Linked DNA regions of Homo sapiens: regions 2, 3, 4, 5 and 6 are each linked to region 1. Evidence: promoter capture Hi-C in 16 types of primary human blood cells and fetal thymus (Javierre and others, 2016). All regions are on one chromosome and are shown on one strand. The core of a region is centred on a gene start or on the middle of the fragment in contact, and the rest is flanking DNA. Distances in the headings are between cores, read along the strand shown. Region 1 holds the start of ZRANB2 (zinc finger RANBP2-type containing 2). Region 2 has its middle 4.4 kb from the start of USP33. Region 3 overlaps USP33 (ubiquitin specific peptidase 33). Region 4 has its middle 11 kb from the start of ZZZ3. Region 5 holds the start of PIGK (phosphatidylinositol glycan anchor biosynthesis class K). Region 6 holds the start of LEPR (leptin receptor).

Region 1 (2,785 bases), core at 105-2,604:
TATATGCTGTATTCTAAAAAAAATTAATGCATTTATATACCAGAATCTATGCATAAGAATGCTCATACTGGTGTTGTTTGTAATACCAAGCCTGAGAAACAGAAGGAATAAACTGTCACAAAACCACAAAACGGAATAGTATCAGTATACATCAGTGCAAATAAAAGAATTACACCTATACACTTCTACATGCAACTACCTAGGATTAATTTAGAAGCATAATGAACAAAAAAAGAGTACAGAATCAACTATGCTTACACAGCTCATAAAATTAAACATACATGTATGTTAGGTTTTGAAGGGAAGGCAAGGATTAAAGAAAGAGAGGGTGGCTTAACAACAAATACAGGATTTATGTCCAGCATAAGACCTACAGAGGTGGGAGACCAGCTTAATGCCAGTGCCCGTTGCTTCTTACAGGCTGGGGTGATTTATAGGCCTGGGTGGGAGTGGTCTGGGGGGCCATGGCCTGCTTCCTGGGAACATGTTGATAAGGTGTTCCCAGGACGAGGCGGCTCTGGCCCTTGTTCCAGTGGAATGTGGTACTTTCTCCCAGCAGAGTATAAGAGGCAGCCTGTTTCTCACGCCCGAACCCCGTGGAATGTTTCACTTTGACTAAGGTCTGCAAAATGGCAGGGGGGCTTACAAAAATGGTGCAGTTTGGACTAACAACGTACATAAATTTTTAAAAAGCAAAAGAATAAATCCCAAATATGGGAAAGTGTTATCTGTGGAAGAAAGTAATGGGATGGTATCAGAAAAGACACTGGTAATTTAAACAGTGTTGACAATGTCTCAGTTTTAAAATTACCAGCTGGTTCCCATGTATAAGTTGCTTACTTATCTGTTACACCTATTTATGTATATATAAAAATAGGTTTCCAAACGACATCCCATGTGTATGAAATAACAGAATTTTTATGCCTTATTAAAATAATTTCTCTAAACACTTGAAGAGCCCGAGCCGCCTCTTACCCTAAACGAACCCCACGCCCCTGAATTGATCAGTCACTTCCGCCTCCACCTTTCCAGCTCCACCTAAGGAAGCGGAAGTACTTTACTCTTGGGTCCTCCCACCTGTAGGGGGCTCTCCGAGGCTTCTAGTGCCACGAAGGCCTCCTGCCTGGGTTGTCCTTATGGCGCCTGTGAGTTTAGTTCTAGAAAAGATATTTGTATTTTAACTTTTCCATCTAACAAACAGTAGCACAGGCATCTTAGTCTGGACAACAACGTACAAGCTGAATTCCTGGCTAGTTCCCTCATTATCAAACCCTGACACAGTAGTAGGCGCGAGTCAGGCAGTGTGGGGACAGCCCCGAGTTGCCGAAAGTCCCCGGCCCGTTTTCCTCCTGTGAAGACATAGCTGCGGGTGGCTGTGCTGGTGGCGTTCAAGATGTCGACCAAGAATTTCCGAGTCAGTGACGGGGACTGGATTTGCCCTGACAAAAAGTGAGTTCAAGAAGGGTCCTGAATTGGGACGGAGTTTGTTAGTGGAAGCTTTCCGAGGTCCGTCCGGCATTTTCCTTTTTTATGATTTTCTGTGCCTTAAGACGGGTTGAGGCGGCGAACCGCCAGTTCCCTGGCGGGAAGAAGGCTCCCAATCTCCTCACGAGAGAGGTCTTTCCGGGAGCCTTTGTTCTAGATATGTCTTCAGCGTTTCCTCGACATTACCTCCGCAAGGTAGCCTCTCTTTTTAGAGTGCGAGATGGCCTACCTTTTTGCCCCCACCCCCCTCCCCCGCCCCGGCCAGGTTTTAGCGATAGGAAACCTCTCCAGTCAGGCCAGCTTGGTGTTGGATCTCCCCCACGTGACTTTTCTCTGCAGAACTTTACTCTTGTTCACGGAAAATATTGCTTTCTCGCACTCGTCCTTTTGCCTCTTATAGTTCACCTTGTTTTGTATTTTTACTCAAACTTTTCCTCCATACTATTTTCCCCTTTTCCGGAAGCTCTACCCTCTTCGGTTTGGGAAATTCTGACATTTTCTTTGTGGATCATTTCTCCACAAGAATTGGGCTTTTCGCCTCCTTAGAGCCGAAAAGGAGGGAAGAGGCCTGTGTTTTTGCCTACTCAGCCCTTAAGATGCCTGCAGCAGAGAAGCACGTGTGTTAGTGGCTCTGCTTTTTGACATTGTTGCCAAAGCCAGTACTCGACTAGATAGTTAATCAGATTTTTTTTGAAGGGTGCACAAATAGGTGTATCTATTCGGAAATAACATGGAAAATAATTTAATGTACAACTCATGTTCACATAAAAGCCTTTTATTTGTTGTACCTAAGTTAGCCACAAATAGGTTTTGATTGTAAAAAGCAAAAACTTTGAAATAAACCTGGGTTTAGTTAAAATTCTATTACTTATTTAACTGCTAAAAAAGGAATAGAATTTTTTTTTTAATGAAAACATGAAATAACATGGATAGGGTGTGTAAACAGTGACGTGTAGCAAATTCTAATTGGTGGCTATTGATAGTAATTTGATATTAAGATGACCTGAAGGAGTAGTTCAAGCCTAACAAATGATACTGAATAGAACCAAAGTTATATGTTATGGATAGTATTGCTCTGAGTGGTAAGACATTATTGAAAACGTTCAAAAGATTTAGAACAACAACTTCTGACTTTGTTGTTACCTGTAAAATAATGTGCTTTTGTCAGTGTCTTTAATGACAGCACACCCAGAGGTAGGACTCTCAATGAGAGTTCATTTCAACTCATTTACAAATATATGAATAGAATGTTGTTTGTACAATATGTTTAAATGCAGGATAAATTTTCAGAGTATATTTT
Region 2 (2,785 bases), core at 197-2,696, 6.7 Mb before region 1:
TTCTAGCTATCATTCCTTGGATTCTATAAGCCAGTAAACCTCCTTTTTGCCAAAGTTAGGGCATCCAAATTCTGTATCCCAGTTCACCTATGGGCTTCAAGTGGCTTACAGGTATGCCAAGGCAGTGATCCCTGCTGGAAACCTCTAACAGCAAGCATCCTTGTCTATTGATCCCAGTGTATTATAATTTTCTAAATGACCTGATCTGATAATCTAAGAAAACTCTGAGAAGCACTAGCCTAAACTAGAGCACCAATTCTCAACTGGGTGTGATTTTGCCCCTTGGGTGACTTTTGGCAATGTTTGGAGACATTTTTGTTTGTTATCACTGGAGGAGGTGCTGCTGGGATCTAGTAGGTAAAGACTAAAGATGCTGCTAAATATCCTTCAGTGCACAGGAACCACCCTCCACAACAAAGAATTATTTAATCCAAAATGTCCGTGTCGCGTCATTTTTTAGAAACTTTGAGCTAGGGTAACCTGAATCGTTACTCTAAGAGTGAATAGATGATAACAGATTCTTGGCAGAGACTTCAAATGTCAGTGCCAAATTACACATCTTAAGTTAAGATACCTCCATGATGGGTGGGGAAATAGGTGCTTCTGTCTCATCTCAAGCCAAGTCTGAGGGGCTTCAAGAGAACCATTTGGAAAAGATGAGATGTGCCCCTTGAATCTTACAGAGATGATATCTGGTAACTGATGTACATTTGAAAAGTTCTAAATCAAGAGACTGAGGCCGCCTCTGAGCAGAAGATGCATATAGGGGCTGGGTATGGAGGCTCATGCCGGTAATCCCAGCACTTTGGGAGGCTGAGGCAGGCAGATCACTTGAGGTCAGGAATTCAAGACCAGCGTGGCCAACAATGACGAAACCCCGTCTCTGCTAAAAAAAAAAAAAATACAAAAATTAGCCGGGCATGGTAGTGCCTGCTTGTAGTCCCAGCTACTCGGGAGGCTGAGGCAGGAGAATCACTTGAACCCAGGAGGCAGAGGTTGCAGTGAGCCAGGATTGTGCCACTGCACTGCAGCGAGACTTTCACACACACACAAAATGCATATAGGGCTGATTGGGAACAGTTCACACTTCTGTGCAAGATACTTGTATGCTTTTTGTGGACTAAGTGAGAACCTCATGTAAGAGATTTGGACTGGGTCACCTTGAAAATGTCTGTCCAAAAGGACTGTCAGTTTGGGTGAGAGGATCCCTGGAAATCAGGGGACTAAGGACTAGGTCATAGGTGGCCATCCAGAAGATACATTGCTGAGCCAAGAGACTGTAGGTGAGGGTTCCAGTGATGGACTCCATGAGAGAAAGAGTCAGCTTCAGACCTCAGCCACTCCCAAAAGTCACTGACTGCTAAAACTGTGTCAGTCCAGAAAGATCCTTTCTGTTCTTGTCTTCTTCAACTGTGGAGGGGCACAAAACAAAAAGCCAATAAGCCAGGGAGAAGGGAGAACAAGGTAGAGGAAATGGCAGAGAATTTTTGATATTGCACTGGACAGGATTTTTTTCTAATACTAGGGGCAAAAGGCCACTTTTTTTTATTACTAGAAAATTACTGGAGGACTTTTTTTTTTTTTTTTTCTGACAGAGAGGCTCTTGCTCTGTCACCAAGCTGGAGTACAGTGGCACGATTATAGCTCACTCACTGCAGTCTCAAACTCCTGGGCTCAAGGGATCCTCCTGCCTCAGCCTCTGGAGTAGCTGTACTACAGGCATGTGCCATCGTATCCTGGTATTATTTTTTAAAATTTTTTGTAGAGGCAGAATTTCACTTTGTTAACCAGGCTGGTCTCGAACTCCTGGGCTCAACTGATCCTCCCACCTTGGCTTTGAAAAGTGTTGAATTATAGGCATGAGCCAACACACCTGGCCTGGTGGACTTTTTAATTATGTGACAGTGAGCGGAAAAGCAAAAATGCTTTGCCTAAGATTTGTTTTAAAATATATTTTTCTTTTCTTTCTTTCTTTTTTTTTTGTTCTTGTTTTTGTTTTTTGAGAGACAGGGTCTCACTCCTATTGCCCAGGCTGGAGAGGGGTGGCACAGTCATGGCTCATGACAGTCTTAATTTCCTGGGCTCAAGTGATTCTCTCACCTCACCCTCCATAGTAGCTGGGACTACAGGCATGATCCACCATGCCCGGCTAATTGTTGCAATTTTTTGTAGAGACAGGGTTTCGCCATGTTGCCCAGGCTGGTCTTGAACTCTGGTCTCAAGCAGCCGCAGCTTTCCAAAGTGTTGGGATTACAGGCATGAGCTACTGCGCCCTGCCCAGAAACATATTTTATTTTACTTTGAGACAGAGTTTTGCTCTTGTTGCCCAGGCTGGAATGCAGTGGTGCCATCTCAGCTCACTGCAACCTCCGCCGCCCGGGTTCAAGCGATTCTCCTGCCTCAGCCTCCCGAGTAGCTGGGATTATAGGTACCTGCACCACACCCAGCTAATTTTTGTATTTTTGATAGAGATGGAGTTTCATCATGTTGGCCAGGCTGGTCTCGAACTCCTGATCTCAGGTGATCCGCCCAACTCGGCCTTCCAAAGTGCTGGGATTACAGACGTGAGCCACTGGGCCCGGCCCAAAGACATATTTTAAAGCCCCAGCTTAAATCAGAGTTTCTCAATAGTGGCATTAATGATGTCTGGGACTCTCTTGTAATATCAATGCAAAGGAATGTTACTAATTCTTTCTCCCACCAATCCTCTTCAGAAATATTGCCAACTATCCACTCAGGGGACAAAACCACCCCCAGTTGAGTGCCAACAAGTTTTTGAGTCCTT
Region 3 (2,785 bases), core at 157-2,656, 6.7 Mb before region 1:
GGATTATAGGCATTAGCTACTGTACCCAGCCTGTTGGCTATTTTTTAAGATTTTCTTTTTATTACTAGTTTTAAGTAATTTGTTTTTGATGTACATGGTGTAGTTTGTGTGTTTTGTGCTGAGTTTAAATTGCTTGTGGATCTGTAGGGCTCTAGTTTTCATCAAATTTGAACATTTTCCCCTATATCACTGATGTTCTGATTTAATTTTTAAGATTAAGATTTAGTCTATCTTTGTTCTGTCATCTGTGCTATTTCTTGGTTTCTTCTTTTTCTCTTCACTGTGGGTCAGAATTTCCTTCTTAGAATGCCTGTCATTTTTTATTAGATGCCAGTTATTGTGATTTTTACCTTGATGGGTACTGAATTTTTTCATTCCTTTAAATGTCCTTAAGCTTTGTTCCGAACACAATTCCTTTGGAACAGTTTGATCCTTCTAAGACTTCTTTTTGAACTTTTTTTTTTTTTTTTGAGACAGAGTCTTGCTCTGTCCTCAGGTTGGATTGCAGTGGCGCGATCTCAGCTCACTGCAACCTCTGCCTCCTGGGTTCAAGCAATTCTCCTGTCTCAGCCTCCTGAGTAGCTGGGACTATAGGTGCACACCACCACGCCCAGCTAATGTTTGTATTCTTAGTAGAGATGGGGTTCCCTTGGCCAGGATGTTCTCGATCTCCTGACCTCGTGATCCGTCCACCTTGGCCTCCCAAAGTGTTGGGATTACAGGGGTGAGCCACTGCGCCCAGCCCTTTTTGAACTTTTTAAAGACAGAACCAAAGTAACCTTTAGATTAAGGATAATTTCTTCCGATTATTGAGGCAATGCCATTCTGAGTGCATTATTTCCTCTATTATGGTGTCTTTCAACTGTGGCTGATGAGAATACCAACAACCCTTAAAGGCTTTGAGAATTGTTTTACCTAATCCTTTCCCGTGGTTTTTTTCTCTGGCTTGGGGTAGTCTAATCACATGGCGTGCACCTGTAGTTGTAGCTACATGGGAGGCTGAGACAGGAGGACGGTTTGAGACCAGGAGGTTGAGGCTGCAGTGAGTTGTGTTTGCCCCATTGTACTCCAGTGTGAGTGACAGAATGAGGCCCTGTCTCAAAAGAAAAAAGAAATGTTTGCACTATTAACCCTAGAGTGGTTCCTGGTGAATTTTGTGTGTTGCAGCGTAATAGTGAATTGATTATTTGATTTGATTTTGTTCAACTTTTCTTAAAAAAATGTATTTACACAAACCTGCACATTGTGCACATGTACCCTAGAACTTAAAGTATAATAAAAAAAATGTATTTACTAATGTGTTAATATTTCAGCAAATTTATTGCAATGGGTTTAAAAGGCAGACAGAGGCCAGGCGCAGTGGCTCACACCTGTAATCCCAGGACTTTGGGAGACTGAGGCGGGTGGATCACCTGAGGTCGGGAGTTCGAGATCAGCCTGACCAACATGGAGAAACCCCATCTCTACTAAAAATACAAAAAAAGTGGTCGGGTGTGGTGGCGCATGCCTGTAATCCCAGCTACTCGGGAGGCTGAGGCAGGAGAATCACTTGAACCTGGGAGGTGAAGTTTGCGGTGAGCTGAGATCACGCCATTGCACTCCAGCCTGGGCAGCAAGAGTGAAACTCTGTCTCAAAAATAAATAAATAAATAAATAAATAAATAAATAAATAAATAATAAAAGGCAGACAGACACTCTTATATAAGCTACAGGGTAACAAAGGGGTTCTATATAGTTATAAACTATTACATAGACCTGCATGGTTTATTGAATAACTTATAAACCACAAAGGAAATTAAATTTACAGTGTTTCTGAAGTTCAAACTTTTAAACTGTTTCATTCTATCCTAGCAAGTTCTAAACTTTTTTTGGGAAAGTGTTCTCAAACCTCAAAGTTGAATTAAGAGCATGAAAAGCCCTGTTATTAAAAAGGTACAACCAAAAGATCTAGGAATACCAAATTAGACTTGAGACCTTTGGAAATCACTCGCTTTACTTGAACCAAACACTGTGGATCAGTAAAGTTTGCATCTCTTAGCCTTATGTGCAAATGAAGCTAATAATGGTGCCTATTTCAGGGGTTGTAAAGATCATGAAAATGGGGTTCTCAAACCTGGAGAGATTTTGTCCCCCAGAGGGTATAATTTAAAACAGTCTAGAGACACTGGTCATCAGAGTTCAGAGTGGTGGCAGGGATGGTCTGTCTGTCTCTTGTGGATAGAAGTGGGAATGTTGCCAAATAACCTGCAGTGCACAGGACAATCCCTCACAGCGAAGAATTATCTGGCCCTAAGTGTCAATAGTGCCGGGATCGAGAAACCCTGATATAAAGTGCTTATCCTGGTATAAGGCCAGGATACCAGATGATTTAATTTATGCCATCAGTAGGGGGTCCTATTAGTAGAAAAATGAAGCTTTCTACTTGAAGTTTTTTTTTTTCAACTCCTAGTCCAGCCTAAGGATTAATTTTTTTTTTAAAAGGATAAAAGTGCTTCACAGTTGAATAACTTGAATATTCCCCCCTTTTATTTATCTATAAAAAGTGAAATGAGAGGGGAAAAGCAGCAAAAGTCATGGAGAAACAAACTTACATTTGTTTATAGATGTCAATTTTAATAAAATGTTTATGTAGTAGAGAAATTTCCAGTGTTCAGATTAACTTCAATTCTGAAAACTCATCTATGTTTGAGAATACACTCTTTTTACAGGGCAAACTTATATCATTCTTATGTTATCTTTTAATCATTTTTAATATGTTAACATTTTAATTTTTTTATTTTTTGGA
Region 4 (2,785 bases), core at 212-2,711, 6.6 Mb before region 1:
CAAAAAGCTGGGGTTATAGGTGTGAATCACTGCACCCGGCCTCTTGTTATTTCTTAATCAGAAGTATGCAAACAAGTCATTCAGTCTAGTAAAGTTGGTTTTTATTTATTATTTTATTTTTTTTTTAGACAGGGTCTCTCGAGCTCTGTCACCCAGACTGGAGTGCCTGGCGTTGAATACAGCTCACTGCAGTCTCCATCTCCTGGGATCAAGCGATCCTCCCACCTCAGCCTCCTGAGTACCTGAGACCACAGGTGTGCACCACCACACCTGGATAATTTGTTTTATTTTTTGTAAAGTCTGACTTTATTGCTTGGGCTGGTAATCAGTGTAGTAAAATTTTGATGTTTAATGAAATGAATTTTAATAAGCAGCCATTTAAGATCTATTTGAAGTTTTAAAAAATATATAGTAAAATATGATTCTACTATAGTAAAATATGATCTTCCTCAAGGTCTGAATGTTACTGATTTTTTGTGAATCACCAGAATTTAGTGTATTGTCTAGTATTTAGTGGTTAGTCAAAAAAGATTTGATTTTAATGATTGTTATTTATTGAAACTTAGAATGTTTCAGTCATTTTACTAAAGTTATTTCCTTATATTTAATCCTCCTAACAACTCTATGATATAGGTTAAATGGTTTGCCCAAAGTCATACAGCAAAGAAGTGGCAGATACAGGACTCCAACTCATGGCTTTATATAATAAAGAGCCTATTTTAAATTGAGACTAGTAGTCAGAAAATTATTTACCATAATGTAATCCCCAATGAATTCCTTTGAAACTGGTTGTGGTATCAGTCATATCAGTAGTGTCTGTTATTGGGATATATAATAAGATAAAGATACTGGTCCCTAAGAGCTTATATATATATATATATATATATATTTTTTTTTAATAGTTTTTTCGAGACAGGGTCTCACTCTGTCGCTCAGGCTGGAGTGCAGTGGTGCAATCTCAGCTCACATGCGACCTCGACCTCCTGGGCTCAAGCAATTCTCCCACCTCAGCATCCTGAGTAGCTGGAACTACAAGAATATGCCACCACACCCAGCTAATTCTTGTATTTTTTGTAGAGGCAGCATTTTGCCATGTCACCCAGGCTGGTTTCGATCTCCTGAACTCAAGCAATCCACCCGCCTTGGCCTCCCAAAGTGTTGGGATTACAGGCGTGAACCACCATGACCGGCCAATTTTTTTTACATTATAATTGTCAAAATACATAATATGTTCAGTAAAGGTCTAGCAATACCATAGACTCATAGCTAAAAATTGATCTATGTGTTGACAGATGTGGGATAAAATAAATAGTTTCTCTAAGGATGATTTTCCTGGAAATAAGCTGAGAATTAGGAAAATTGCAATCAAAGGCTAGTGAGAGCCTATATGTGTTAAGAGTCTATTGATTTATAGGCCAGGTGTGGTGGCTCATGCCTGTAATCCCAGCAGTTTGGGAGGCCAAGGTGGGTGGATCACTTGAGGTCAGGAGTTTGAGACCAGCCTGACCAACATGGTGAAACCCCATCTCTACTAAAAATACAAAATTAGCTGGCGTGGTGGCATGCGCCTGTAATCCCAGCTACTTGGGAGGCTGAGGCAGGAGAATTGCTTGAACCCGGGAGGCAGAGGTTGCAGTGAGCCAAGATCGTGCCACTGCACTCCAGCCTGGGCAACAAGAGCAAAACTCCATCTAAAAAAAAAAAGAAAAAAGAGTCTTGATTTATAATATGAAGGTGATTACTTTTGAGGCCCTGAAGTCCATTTGTTTAAATTCAAGTCCTAGTAGCTATATTAACTATGATTTGGAACAATATTTAAAGTTCTCTGATTTCCAGTTTTCTTCATTTGCTAAATGAGAATGTTGTAGTTTGGGCTTTCCAGGAAGCAGACACTGAGATAGTGTTAATGCATGCATATGATTTGTTGGGGAATAACACAGATGAAAGAAATGAGAGAAACAGGATTGAGCAGGAGGAGTAACCAGAATGATGCAGACCTGACAAATTCTCTGCCAGGTCTCCATAAGGCAATATGGAGCTAAGATTACCCATTGGAGGAGCCCTGCATTGGGCAGAAATGACTAGGTCCTTGTACTGTCACTAGGCCTTGTTCTGTCACTGACTAGTGGCTACCTGGAAAGGAGAATACACTCAGCTTGACCCTGATGGAGCTAACAGAGGTTGTTACCCAACCCTCTTCCTCTCAGCTGCGCAGCAAGTGCTTTCTGGAAGAGGGGTCTGAACAGCAATCTTCATGGCTGCCACACTTAATCATAGGATTATGATAATTATGTGTATTATATATAATATATACAACATAATTGGCACTCGGTGATGTAATTCATCATTCTCTTTCTCCTTTTCAAAATGTGTAATTTCTTTTTTTTTTTTTTTTGAGATGGAGTCTCTCTGTCGCCCATGCTGGAGTGCAGTGGCGTGATCTCTGCTAACTGCAACCTCTGCTTCTCAGGTTCAGGCAATTCTCCTGCCTCAGCTTCCCGAGTAGCTGGGACTACAGGTGCACGCCACCATGCCTGGCTAATTTTTGTATTTTTAGTAGAGACGGGGTTTCACCATGTTGGTTAGGCTGGTCTCAAACTCCTGACCTCAAGTGATCCACCCGCCTCAGCCTCCCAAAGTGCTGGGATTACAGGCGTGAGCCACCACGTGCTAGGCCCAAAATGTGTAATTTCTAAGGATGCAACATTATTTATGTAAGAGTCCTGTCAAAAATGTTGAATCTGAATCTATGAAGAGAAGAGAAGCAAGATAACTTTTTATATTT
Region 5 (2,785 bases), core at 131-2,630, 6.1 Mb before region 1:
ATCATCAGCATCCAATAGATATCTGTTGAATTAATGAATACATGGAAGATATTCTGGCAGTGTATTTACTTTCTAGGATTCACGTAACGGAAAACCTAAATTTGACTAAATAGCATGAAACCTCTCACAAAGTGCAATAGCAAAAGAAACAAATAAAAGGAAAAGAGAGACAAGAGAATGGGAAAAGCAATAGCATAAAATATGGCAAAGGCTAATGTTACTTATTTATAAATATATTATTCAAATTCATATGCAAAACATAAATATATAAACAAAGAATTTACATCAGAGGACACAGAGATAGTTTAGAAACACAAGAAAGACATCAGATCTTGATAGTAACCAAAGAATTATAAGTATAGTTACCTAGGGGTAACATTTCATACCAAAGAATTTAAAGGAAAAAAAATGGTATGGTTTGGTGTTGTGTATTCTGATAGTGCTGTAAGCTTGTTCATTTTGGAAAGCAACATCATTTATAGTTATTAAAATGTTTTGGAATATTTTGACCCCAAATTCCTAGTTCAGGAAAATTATACAAACAAAATAATTCAACAGATTTAAAAAGCCAAACACACAAAAGATACTCTTTACAATATTATTTTCATAGTAAAACTTAAAAACTTTGCATTGTGCAGCAGAGGGACAATTACTTTGGCTGAGGCATCAATAATGGATGGAATTTTATCTCACCATTAAATGTTAAAATTGTGAGGAAGCAGCGTGGAAACGTTTATGTCATACTAGATGAAATGCATAAATTAAAACTGAACTCACATAATAAAGAGAATGGTGGACCATACATATACACCAGCTGTGTCTCTTCCAGATAGGCTTTAGTTCCATAATTACAGAAGATACTCAAGAAACAAAAACGTAACTAGCTTCCCATGTTAATCCTTTCACCAGGTAGTAGACCCCAAGCCTCTAAATTGCAGCGCCCACCCACATTTTCCATTTATAGTTTATCCAATTAATCATCTTTTTGTGCCAAAACGCTTGTTCTTCCCACCACATCCAGCTTCATATTTTCAAAGAATTGGCAGCACTCGGCAAAATAAATAAATAAATAAATAAATAAATAAATAAAATAAATAAGGGAACAGAGAAATAAGTTTTTAAAGTTTAAGGAGTTACGGGTTTTCCCTCCACTCACCTTTCAATTTTTTTTCTTAAATGTTATACCTATTTTACAACCTCCAAACTGAAAATGCAGTTAAAAATAAAAAGGTCAATATCCTGCGTCTACCTTGTCCCGGACTCTCGAGCTCCACAAAACCGCAGAGTTCTAAAGCCGGACCAGAGGGCCACCTCGAAGAGGCGCGGATGGTGTCGCAAAAACCCGCAGCGCTACTTTACGGCACTGCCTCCGCCCCTTCAGGTGCGGGAAGTCTGAAGCCGGTAAACATGGCCGTCACCGACAGCCTCAGCCGGGCTGCGACTGTCTTGGCAACTGTGTTGCTCTTGTCCTTCGGCAGCGTGGCCGCTAGTCATATCGAGGTAGGAGTCAGGCTCATTTGACCACAGCCGGGAGGCCGGCTGTGAGCCCTCCAGCAGATGTCCGATACACAGTAGCTGAGGGACGCCTCCTGGAGTCAATCAGCCCCTGACCCAGGCTGGGTTTGAGGAGGGTATCACTGGGCACGGGTTAGGACACTGTTGGTCTGTTTCAGCGTTTTAAAACGATGAATTGAAATAATCAAACCCTCGGAGACAGAGGAGGACCTGATCCTTTGCTCCTACATGTGTGCAGTTCTTAGGTGAAATACGAGCAAGAGGCTCGTGAAATGTCAGTGTGCAGCAACTGCTTTCCTACTACTCAACTGCAGCCCTCTGTTTTGATAGGAGTCAGACGGAACTGGAGAGATGAGGGCAATTTTAAGAATCCAGATAATAGAATTTAGTGATAATTAGAACATGGGATAAATATAAGTGTTTATTAAAACTCTCAAGTTTCTGGCTTAGGGGCAACACGTCTGGGTTAAGAAATGGAAGAGAAAAGGGGTGCTTAGTTTTATCCTGGGCTCCTCCAGCTTCCCATTTTTAAACGTGGACACAGGATGTTCTGGTGCTCTATAATGCTTTTACTATTCACCATACTCTGATGATTCCTCAGTCCCGGTCTACAATCTAGATGTCTGGTATCTTTTTCAGGCCTGCATATCCAGCTGACTAAGAATCCGGGATAGTCAGGAGACATTTGAAAATCCGTGTGCAAAGTTTTATCTTCTGCTTATCCTACCTCCTCTTAAAAAGACACTGAAAAACTAAGCACCCCTTTTCTCCTCCATTTCTCAACCAGATGTGCTGCTCCTAAGCTAGAAACCTGAGAGTCTTAATCTCTTTATCCCATATTCTAATTATCACTAAATTTTGTGATCTGAGTTCTTAAAATTGCCCTCACCTCTCCAGTTCCACTGACTTAATTCAGGCTGTGATCACTTCTTGTCTAGACTCTTGCGATTACTTTATCTTGTTTTCCATAGGCCTCCATACTCCCTGAGTTTGGTGCTAGATTCGTCTACACGAAATGTAAGCCTGATCAGGTTATTCTTCTGATGAAATCTTTTAAATATTTATTAATTGCATACAGAATAAAGTCTAAACGTTATGACCTGGTGCTTGCCTACTTTTCCAGTGTTCCATATTGGAACCTCTTCTCCCCACCACCTGGGCACCTTGAGCTTAGACCAGTGGACTCCAAACTTTTTGAATACACACCCTATCAGTTAAAAAAAGATATTGAGCATGAACTTCATATATATTTATGAATTACTGTTAATTT
Region 6 (2,785 bases), core at 162-2,661, 5.7 Mb after region 1:
CCAACCCACCATCTGTTCTCCCACCGCATCTGAGCCCAACATAAACACTGACATAGTAATATAATTATTTCCAGCTCTGTCACCCACCAATAACTTCTCATTTATCTTTGTATCCTAAGTCTCTGGCATACAGTAGTTCCTCAATAAAAGTTGAACAATCTGTAAAATGCTTCCTTCCCTTAGTCCGTTTCCATTTCAGACTTCCTTTTTTTTCACTACATCACAATTTTCTAACACATTCACACATAAACGTGATCATGATTTGGTAGTTTCTGATCATGTGTAGTACTGAGACACTACTTTTCATCTGTTTTCGGCATTGGCTTCAAATGGATATATAACACAGTCGACACTCTCCAAGTAAACCATGTTTACTAAACTGATATTAAGTATAAAAGTCAGCCAGAAATAACGATAAAATGTCTGCTGCTAACAGCTCACATACTCGGATAAATTCATAGTGAACAGAGGCGTACTCGTATATATACTATCTACATGTTTATAGCAGATGTTAACTGGGGATATCTTTGGGTGCAAATTTCAAGGATGATATAAAAGCCAATATAAAAACAAGTCATGCTACTCTATTCGACAGATTAGAAATGGAATGTTTTCCTACCAAAATACAGGAAGCCTTGCAAAAAACCTTTTCCGTCTCGCATTGCTCTGAAGCCATACAGATAAGGGACGCGGTGTTTTTACCAACTGCCCCATGCAAAAAACACATACTACACACACACTGGTTTCTTCTCTGTCCATAAACAGAGAAAACACCGAAGAAAGCAGTATTAAAATTACACGTAATCTACTCTCCACGACTGCGAGAAACACCGTCTTTCTGGGTGCTTTCCATTGACACCCGCCCGCGGTCAACTCTGCCCAGTTGGAAAAATCATTAGGAAAAAGAGGATTAAGTTTCCCAATGCTAAGAACGCTGGAGACAAAGGGTCCTTTGTGGCAAATAGGAAACTGCGGAGGGGCAGAAAACCAGAAGAAAGGCGTTAGGGTGGCGTCAAGAAGTGGAAACCTTGTTTAAAAACTCAGGAGAGGTGGAGGGCGCCGCTCTCGCCGAGGGCTCAGGCTGGGGAGGGGTCTGGTGCCGCCACTGGAGAGCAGGAAGGCCAGCGGCCTTGCAAAAAGGGCCAAGGCTCCCCCGAAACGCCGCTCCACCCACACCCCAAGGGACGAAGGGAGCGGTCGATCGCCTCCCGAACCGGAGAGGCGGGAAGGGTGGTGAGGCCGTTCCCCAACGGCGCGCGGAAGGCGCAGCCCCAGGCTTGACCGGAACGGAGGTGGCAACCCCACCACACGACAAGCGAGCCGGGGACCGCGATGTACCTTTAACGCCCGCCATGTCTCCCGAACTGGGGCCGCGGCTGCTTCCGGCTTCCTGCCACGGCCCGGGCAGCCTGCCCAAGCCAGACCGGGAGTCGCCCCGCGGATCCCGAGCCCGCCCCGGCCACGCAGAGCCCCGCCCCCGCCGGTGCAGAACTCCGACCTTAGCTCGCAAACGCGGCGCCTGCTGCTCCAGACCCCGCCCCCACCACTCACAACCCCGCCCCCGCCGGTGCAGAACCCCGCCCCCAGCTCGCAGAGGCCGCGCCTGATAGTTCAGACCCGGCCTCGCTACTCAGAGCCCCGCCCCTGACAGTACAGAGCTCCTCCCCTACCTCGCGGAGGCAGCGCCTGCGGCTCCAGACCTCGCTACCGCTACTCGAAGCCCCGCCCCAGACAATGCAGAGCTCCTCCCCTAGCTCGCGGAGGCCTCCCCTGCTGGTCCCGCCCCAGCCCTCACCGGCCCAGAATTCCGCCCCCAACTCTCAGAGGCCGTCCCTGCTGGTCCCGACCCCGCCCCCGCCACCCAGAACTCCGCTCCTGCCAGTCTAGAACTCCGCCCCCAGCTCGCAGAGTCCATCTCCAGCCCTAAGGTCCCACCTGGTCCCACAGAGCTTTCCCAGAGTAACCCCAACCCAGTGCCCTGGGCCCTCCTCCTAGATCCTGAGCCCTCCAAGTAATCCTCAAGCCCGTTCAATGTGGGTTGGGACCTTGGCTCCGCCCCGACCGCGGGCCCAGAGTCTCTCCCCGGCCTCTCAGAACGCAGTGCACGCAGCGGGGGATCCTCCCTGAGCCTTCCTGAGAACGGAGATGTAGAAAGTGGGGAGAGGCAGGAGAGGGAAGGAGGGGAAAAGTTGCAATCGATGGGAGAGGGACACCGACTCACTAACCAGTGTTATGTTCCCTGAGCTCCCAAGTGCGTGCTAGTGTGCGAGTGTGTGCCTGTCTGCCTTCACATGACTGTGGCAGAGGAGAGGCGGGGTACCAGAGGACAGGCCCCTTAGGAAACACTCCTCATTAAGAACTTGATATTTGCATAGGTTTGCTTTGCTTAATAGCAACGCTTTACTGAAACTAGCGGGGTTTTTCTTTACTCCCTGGTTTATTTATAGAGACGAAGACCATATAAGCTTTTGTGTCCGAAGCTTTCATGAACCTTAAAAAAAAAAATAAAAAAAAAAAGCTATTATTTTTGTGCCTTGGGGCCTCAAAGTTTGCAGGTAACCAAGGCCAGTTTTTAGATCTCTGAGAGCCATTGTGTACTTATCTTACAGGAATGGAGAGTTCTGTTTTGGCAAAAGCAATCTAGAAGATCATTGAAACAGTCTGGTCCAAATGCTTCAACTTACATTTAAGGAAAGAGGTGCAGAAAGGATAGGACTTGCCTGTCACACAGCTCTTTGGAGGAGGTTGGATTCTGGGCCACTTCCCCTCATTCTAGCTGAGATCC

Evidence for each region. Contacts are between HindIII fragments. The CHiCAGO score rates a contact against its expected background, and 5 or more counts as called.
Region 2: a fragment that was not itself captured here is called in contact with the fragment with the promoter of ZRANB2 in region 1 in 3 of 17 cell types (total B cells, non-activated CD4 T cells and activated CD4 T cells); the score reaches 13.9 in total B cells.
Region 3: a fragment that was not itself captured here is called in contact with the fragment with the promoter of ZRANB2 in region 1 in 1 of 17 cell types (naive CD4 T cells); the score reaches 5.1 in naive CD4 T cells.
Region 4: a fragment that was not itself captured here is called in contact with the fragment with the promoter of ZRANB2 in region 1 in 1 of 17 cell types (naive CD8 T cells); the score reaches 6.1 in naive CD8 T cells.
Region 5: the fragment with the promoter of PIGK here is called in contact with the fragment with the promoter of ZRANB2 in region 1 in 4 of 17 cell types (total B cells, total CD8 T cells, naive CD8 T cells and 1 more); the score reaches 10.8 in total B cells.
Region 6: the fragment with the promoter of LEPR here is called in contact with the fragment with the promoter of ZRANB2 in region 1 in 5 of 17 cell types (non-activated CD4 T cells, activated CD4 T cells, naive CD4 T cells and 2 more); the score reaches 15.1 in non-activated CD4 T cells.

Annotation. Positions count from the first base shown.
Region 1 is chr1:71,079,604-71,082,388 of GRCh38, reverse strand. ZRANB2 (zinc finger RANBP2-type containing 2) reads left to right here and starts at 1,354. Exons shown (of 10, transcript NM_203350.3): 1 at 1,354-1,449. The coding sequence starts at 1,394. ZRANB2-DT (ZRANB2 divergent transcript) reads right to left here and starts at 1,065. Exons shown (of 4, transcript NR_046217.1): 1 at 976-1,065. RefSeq lists an enhancer at 1,115-1,404. The HindIII fragment of the contact is 3,322 bases long and covers 1-1,499 here.
Region 2 is chr1:77,762,903-77,765,687 of GRCh38, reverse strand. No RefSeq gene overlaps it. Among named protein-coding and RNA genes, the nearest start is that of USP33, 4.4 kb to the right of the region's middle. The HindIII fragment of the contact is 3,252 bases long and covers 1-2,785 here.
Region 3 is chr1:77,741,808-77,744,592 of GRCh38, reverse strand. The region is part of intron 1 of USP33 (ubiquitin specific peptidase 33); the gene reads left to right. Among named protein-coding and RNA genes, the nearest start is that of USP33, 17 kb to the left of the region's middle. The HindIII fragment of the contact is 2,020 bases long and covers 397-2,416 here.
Region 4 is chr1:77,692,666-77,695,450 of GRCh38, reverse strand. No RefSeq gene overlaps it. Among named protein-coding and RNA genes, the nearest start is that of ZZZ3, 11 kb to the right of the region's middle. The HindIII fragment of the contact is 7,698 bases long and covers 1-2,785 here.
Region 5 is chr1:77,218,025-77,220,809 of GRCh38, reverse strand. PIGK (phosphatidylinositol glycan anchor biosynthesis class K) reads left to right here and starts at 1,380. Exons shown (of 11, transcript NM_005482.3): 1 at 1,380-1,500. The coding sequence starts at 1,408. It overlaps LOC105378808 (a long non-coding RNA gene), which reads right to left and starts at 1,290. Exons shown (of 3, transcript XR_001738109.2): 1 at 1,157-1,290; 2 at 1-22. RefSeq lists an enhancer at 1,587-1,696. The HindIII fragment of the contact is 2,966 bases long and covers 452-2,785 here.
Region 6 is chr1:65,419,294-65,422,078 of GRCh38, reverse strand. It overlaps LEPR (leptin receptor), which reads right to left and starts at 1,411. Exons shown (of 20, transcript NM_002303.6): 1 at 1,339-1,411. LEPROT (leptin receptor overlapping transcript) reads right to left here and starts at 1,411. Exons shown (of 4, transcript NM_017526.5): 1 at 1,339-1,411. The coding sequence starts at 1,354. RefSeq lists enhancers at 908-957, 1,031-1,564, 1,565-2,097 and silencers at 1,328-1,827, 1,848-1,917. The HindIII fragment of the contact is 9,332 bases long and covers 1-2,467 here.